Regions from separate parts of the Homo sapiens genome. Here region 2 is linked to region 1. Evidence: promoter capture Hi-C in human tissues and cell types (Jung and others, 2019). All regions are on one chromosome and are shown on one strand. Each heading gives the region's core, a stretch centred on a gene start or on the middle of the fragment in contact. The rest is flanking DNA. Distances are from core to core; before and after follow the strand shown. Region 1 holds the start of ROR1 (receptor tyrosine kinase like orphan receptor 1). Region 2 overlaps ROR1 (receptor tyrosine kinase like orphan receptor 1).

Region 1 (2,993 bases), core at 331-2,830:
ACACAGTGCTAACTTAAAAATGAAAGATGCATGATAAAAGAGCAGAGATCTATTTATCCGCTCAGGTTTAGGGCTGGGAGTGGGGGAGGGCAGAATCCAAAGGCTCCTCACCCCCTCAAGGGATGCATGTTAAAAGTGAGGCCCGAGACCCCGGAGACTTTAATCAACTTTCCCCCTCCAACCTCCAAAGAATGAATCGGTTGTCTCCACAGGCTCAGCCGGGCTCTTCCCTCTCATTGTGTACCGGCTCAGACGCAGCAAGGACCCCAGCTTCCCGCAGCGAACTAAGACGCTCCGGCTTGCGGTGAAGTCTTTCTCTAACTGTTGCGATTGTCTTTAGAGATTACCAAAATCAAATATGCATTAGATGGCTTTTCCCCCTCTTGTTTGTAACACGCACACACACACGCGCGCGCGCGCGCGTGCACACCCAAAGCACTTTGGAGCCGCAGGCCGCCTCTGACAGCACATTTTGCACAAAGTGGCAGCGGCTGCAGCGGCGCACAAGTTTTGGCCTCTATGATGACTCTCGGGAGGGCCGGAGGGCCGGGGGCGGTGGCGATGCGAGGCCGCCGGAGCCCCAGGAGGACAGGGCTTTTGTTTGCGTCGATCCGCGAGCCGCCTGGGCTCTGGCGAGCACCACTGAAAATCCAAACTCCCTCCTGGACCGCGCCTTCCGGGCCGGCTCGCAACTTGGGGGCAGGATAGACTTGCCTGAACACCGGCTGGGGCGCGCTAGAGGTCCAGGGAGACAAGGGGGGACGCCCTGCACAGAAGTGCCCCGATCACCCCCAGGACCCTCAAACCCCTCCACGCTTCCTGTCAGCGCTGACAATCGCTGCTGCGCACCGAGGAACGAGTCCCTGGGCGCGCCCCGGCCCGCCGCGGGGCTCCGGGGCAAACCCTGGCCTGGCGGGGCTCCGGGGCAAACCCTGGCCTGGCGGCGCCGGCGAGCCCCGTGGCGGGTGGCCGGACGCGCCCCGGAGCCAGCGCGGCGCTTCCTGCGTGTCCCGCGCCCGGCTGGACGGCGGAAGGGTGGCCACGGGTCAGGGGGTCTGGGCGGGCGGGGGCCGGCGGGCGCCTCTTACCTTGGGCAGCAGCCCCGCGTGCGGCCAGCAGCAGCGCGGCCAGCAGCGCCAGGAGCGGCGGGCGCGTCCCGCGGCGGCGCGGCCGGTGCATTCCTCCTCTCGCTGAGGCGGCGGCGGCGGCGGCTCCCAGGCCGCGCGCAGAACATCCACGGGCTCTTCCCGGGCTCCCGGCCGCCTCGTCCCGGCCGCTGGCGCTCGCAGGACGCCGGGGACGTCTGCAAAGCTCTTTGTCCCTCTAACCTGCTCCCTCGCCTCCGCCTGGCCGCCTCTGGATGCCGCGAGCGCGATCCCTTCCCAGCCCTCTGGCTGCAGCCTCGCCTGGGCCGGCGGGTCAGTCCCAGGCTGTCCGGGTCGCACCAGTGGGCGTGAGTCGCCCTGGGTCGGACTCCGAGAACAGCGCACCCTGCGCCCAGGGGCTGCCGTCCCGGGGCTCCCTCGGCGGCGGCGGTGGCGGCTGCTCCAGCTCTCCACGCTCCCTCTCTCGCTCAACTTGTCACTTTCCACCAACTCTCCAGCCCAGCGCCCCAGCCCCGACCAATGGGAGACGCGGCCCAGGCTGGCGACCCAGCGCCCTCTGCTGCAGCCTCTCAACGCCCGCACCCTCCCCGACTTCGCAGAAAGCGGTCGCGGCTCCCGCGTCTCGGGCACGCTCCCTCCCCTCCCCTCCCCCACACTCCTCAAACTCGCCACCGAACCGAGCGCCGGGGACCTTCGAGGCTACTTGACAGAAGGGGAAACCGAGGCTCAGAGAGACTTATCCGGGATCTCAAGCCAGTTCGTGGCTGGACGACAGTAGACCCAGGTTCTAGCAGCCTCAGCTGTGTCACTGTTAGCTGTGTGACTCTGGGTAATGGCACATTTATTGCTATCATACAATTTCCCTTTTGCTTTCTTCTTGGACCCAAGAGTTGAGAGAGTTCTTACACAAGTAATTTATACTTCGCCTTTTTGTCTTTAATTTGTAGTCTCACTGAATTCAATGTCATCTGTACTGCCTCCTGGCAAGATTTATTGAGGATTATCTGTGGTTATTTTTGCCAATGTCCCATGGTTTTTTGAAAGGTGTTTTTGTCTTCCGAATGTGAAGATAGAATACTGTATCGATTTATCTTCTTTGTATTCATTATTTTTTCAGGCCTTCTGAATCTTTGCATGTTTGTTTGTTTGTTTGTTTTTTGTCTAGCTGCTCTGCCATGAGCCAAGGGATCATTAAAGACCTCTACAATGAGTGTGTTTTTGTCCATTTCTCCTGGTTTAACTTTATGGATTTTGTAATTCATAAATACCCATAATGATTTGACTTTCCCTGTAGAGACTGCCTTTGATCATAAAAAGTGGTGAGCGCCTGCTGTTTTCAGGGCTGTGCTCTAGGCTCTGAAGATGCAAGGGTAATAGGACACCTGTCAGTCTTGCTCTGGAGGAACAGGAAGAAGCCCATAGTCTCTCAATAATCACGTGGCCACTTACTAAATACCTCCTGTTTGCCTTGTGTTTTATATGCATTTGCTCACAAATCCTCCATTGACACTAAAAAGAGTCATTAAAAGTATATACTTCTTAGCTGTTTTACATATATTATCCCCATATTACAGTTTTAGAAATTGAAACTCAAAGGGAAAGTAAATGACTTGCCCACAGTCTCACAGACATGGGGTAGCCAAGCCAGCACTCAGGCTGTTTCCACTGAGAGAGTTAAAGCCTGTAACCAGAGCCTGGCACATGATAAGCACTCACTCGGGAGTTGTTGCTGTTGCAGTAGCCTCTAAGAACCCAGCTTTAGGGTTTTAAAATGAACAGTCACTTCATGGAGGGCGAGGACTCTGTCTCAATCATCTAGGTATCTTGCTGGCCTCTAACAGTACCTGGAATGCAATAGGAGCTCAATTAATGAACAAAGGTTAGGTC
Region 2 (2,993 bases), core at 262-2,761, 200 kb before region 1:
AGTTTTATGCATCAACTTGGCTGGGCCCAGATATGTGGTCAAACATTATTCTTGACATTTCTATGAGAGTGCTTTAGGATGAGATTAAAATGTAAATGGGTAGGTTCTGAATAAAGATTGCCCTCCATAATGTGGGTGGTCCTCATCTAATCAGTTAAAGGCCTGAATAGAACAAAAGGCTGACCTCCCCAGCGCAAGAGGGAATTACTCCAGCAGATGGCCTTCAGACTTGAACTACAACATTCACTCTTTCCCAGGTCTTCGGCCTGACAGCCTTTGGACTTGAAACTACAGCATCGGCCCTTTCCTGGTCTCCAACCTGCCAGCGCACCCCACAGACTTCAGATTTTCCAGGCTCCATAAGTGCATGAGCCAATTCCTGGTAATAAATCTCTTTATATATATTGGTTCTGTTTCTCTGGAGAACCTTGACTAATACAGATGTGTGTTCAGATTGTCTCCAATTCCCAGCTATCACCAACAATGCTGTGATGAACATGCTTATACATGTTCTCTTATAGAACCATATGAGGATTTCTTTGATTTATATAACCAGAAGTGAAATTTCTGGATCATAGAAGGATATAGCTACTTTTAATTTTACAAAGCATAACGCTATAACAAAACTACAACATGTTACAATTATTTACAAAGTGTTTACCATGTGCTGCCCACTATATTTGGGAATTGCAGACAGAATAATCTACAAAATAAATGTGATCCCAGCCCATACTGAATTTTCAGCAGAAAAGAACATAAATGATCTGTCACACAGGAAGTGTTCAATAAAAGTATAATTATTGTCAAAACCAAAATTATCCACACCACACAGCTTACTGAATACATTAATATGACTACCTTAATGACCATGACTTTACTCTTACAGAAAATTATTGTCTAGGAAGATAAAAGTTGTAAACAATCTCCTGAAACAAATCATTTAATAAACATCAAACTGATAACTTTTCCATAGATAACATGAATTTCCCGTTTACTTTCCTCTTCTCCTTCCCGGATGCAGAAATAAAAGAGGTCATTTGAGATTAAATCAAAATTCCTGGGTTCTAATCTTAGTTGGGCTACTAACCAGATAACCTCTAGTGTGCACCCGCCATGGATGGACAAATAACCTCCAAGGCCTCAGTAGTCTCATGGATAAAAGGAGGGGCCTGTTGTTGATGGTCCCTAAGGCACTCCCAACACTAAATAGTACGAAAATCTGTGCAGACTATCGTGATCAACAAAATTGGCAGTTTCTTAGGAGGTTGAACTTAAGTGCTCTTATAAAGATCTAAGATATGGAATAGAAGATACAAATATTTTCCTTCTACAAAAAAGGTAAAACATTTTGGTATAGATGTGCATGCCACCACTATTCAGCCTGAGGGGATGATGTGGATCATACTAAGTCAAATTGTGTCTCTCTGGCTCTATGCATTTCCTGAAGTAACATCAGAATTTTGATTCTTAAAGTTGGCCACTTTTCTCCCTCTGAAAAGTGAAACAGGAACAAGCAAGGCACAATCACATGGTGATGACGAGGCACCACAGAGGAAGATGCTTAAGTATGCCATAGCATTTGCCATGTGCCTGGCACTGTTCTAAGCTGCATGAACTTCTCTGATTTTTAGAATAATCCTACAAGGTCAGTACTATAATCATTTCCATTTTACTGATGAGGAAATTCAGTGCAGACAGGTAATTTTCCAGAGCTGCTGAGTGACAGCCAACTCACTACAGGTTGAGCATCCCTAACCCAAAAATCCAAAATCCAAAATGCTCCAAAACCCAAAACTTTTGGAGCGCCAACATGAAACCACAGGTGAAAAATTCCACACCCGACTTCATGTGATAGGTCACAGTCAAAATGCAGTCAAAATTTTGTTTCAGGCACAAAATTACTAAAAAATATTGTATAAATATTCAAGCTATGTGTGTAAGGTGTTGATATGGTTTGCCTGTGTCCTCACCCAAATCTCATCTTGAACTGTAGTTCCCATAATTCCCCATGTGTCATGGGAGGGACCCAATGGGAGGTAAATGAATCATGGGGGGCAATTACCTCCATGCTGTTCTCGTGATAGTGAGTGAGTTCCCATGAGATCTGATGGTTTTATAAGGGGCTTTCCCCCCACTTCACTCTCATTCTTCTCCTTGCTGCCATTATGTGAAGAAGAACATGTTTGCTTTCCCTTCTGCCATGATTCTAAGTTTCCTGAGGCTTCCCCAGATATGCGGAACTGTGAGTCAATTAAATCTCTTTTCTTTATAAATTACCCAGTCTGGGGTATGTCTTTATTAGCAGTGTGAGAATGGACTAATATAGGTGTATATGAAACATAATGAATTTTGTGTTTAGACCCATGTCCTGTGTCCTAGATATCTCACCATATATATGCAAATATTCCAAAATCCAAAAAATTCTGAACTCCAAAACACTTCTGGCCCAAGATTTTTGGATAAGGGATACTCAACCTGTAGTTTCATTTTCCTATATCCATTTGAAGGTGCTAATGAGCAATATGACCAAGTGACTGACAAAAGGAGGAAGAAAAAAGATGACACCGACAAACCAGGGATCTAGATTCTCCTTATGCTAGAAATTTCTCCAAAATGGTGGAAAGTTGGTTATGGTTTTATAGTACATAACAGTGTATATCTAGTTAATGAATGATGTTGACACTGGACTAGAAAGATGTGGACCACATTAGGTCAAATTATGTTTCTCTGGCATTACCTGGAGCAATATTGGAATTTTGATTCCTAAAGTTGGCCAATTTTCTCCCTCTGAGCATCAACAGTTTTCTGAAATCACCACTTTCATGCTTAAACATATAGAGAGATGGCTGTGGGGTAGCAGAAAGCAGAGTGCAAAAAGCATTATGAGATTTGCATTCAAGCCTAAATGCAATCCTTTCCTGGCTGTGCTTCCTCAGGTCGGCCTTTCCTACTTTTCTGTGGTTAAGTTTCTTCACTGGGAATGTAAGAGAATT

What was found. The method cuts DNA at HindIII sites, captures the fragments that hold promoters and counts their contacts. A contact is called where the count stands out against the background at its distance.
Region 2: a fragment that was not itself captured here is called in contact with the fragment with the promoter of ROR1 in region 1 in 1 of the 25 tissues and cell types used here (thymus).

What each region holds. Positions count from the first base shown.
Region 1 is chr1:63,772,604-63,775,596 of GRCh38, reverse strand. It overlaps ROR1 (receptor tyrosine kinase like orphan receptor 1), which reads right to left and starts at 1,580. Exons shown (of 9, transcript NM_005012.4): 1 at 1,089-1,580. The coding sequence starts at 1,179. RefSeq lists an enhancer at 1-519 and silencers at 385-679, 1,464-1,513. The HindIII fragment of the contact is 10,974 bases long and covers 1-2,993 here.
Region 2 is chr1:63,976,210-63,979,202 of GRCh38, reverse strand. All of the region lies in intron 1 of ROR1 (receptor tyrosine kinase like orphan receptor 1), which reads right to left. Among named protein-coding and RNA genes, the nearest start is that of ROR1-AS1, 130 kb to the left of the region's middle. The HindIII fragment of the contact is 8,168 bases long and covers 1-2,993 here.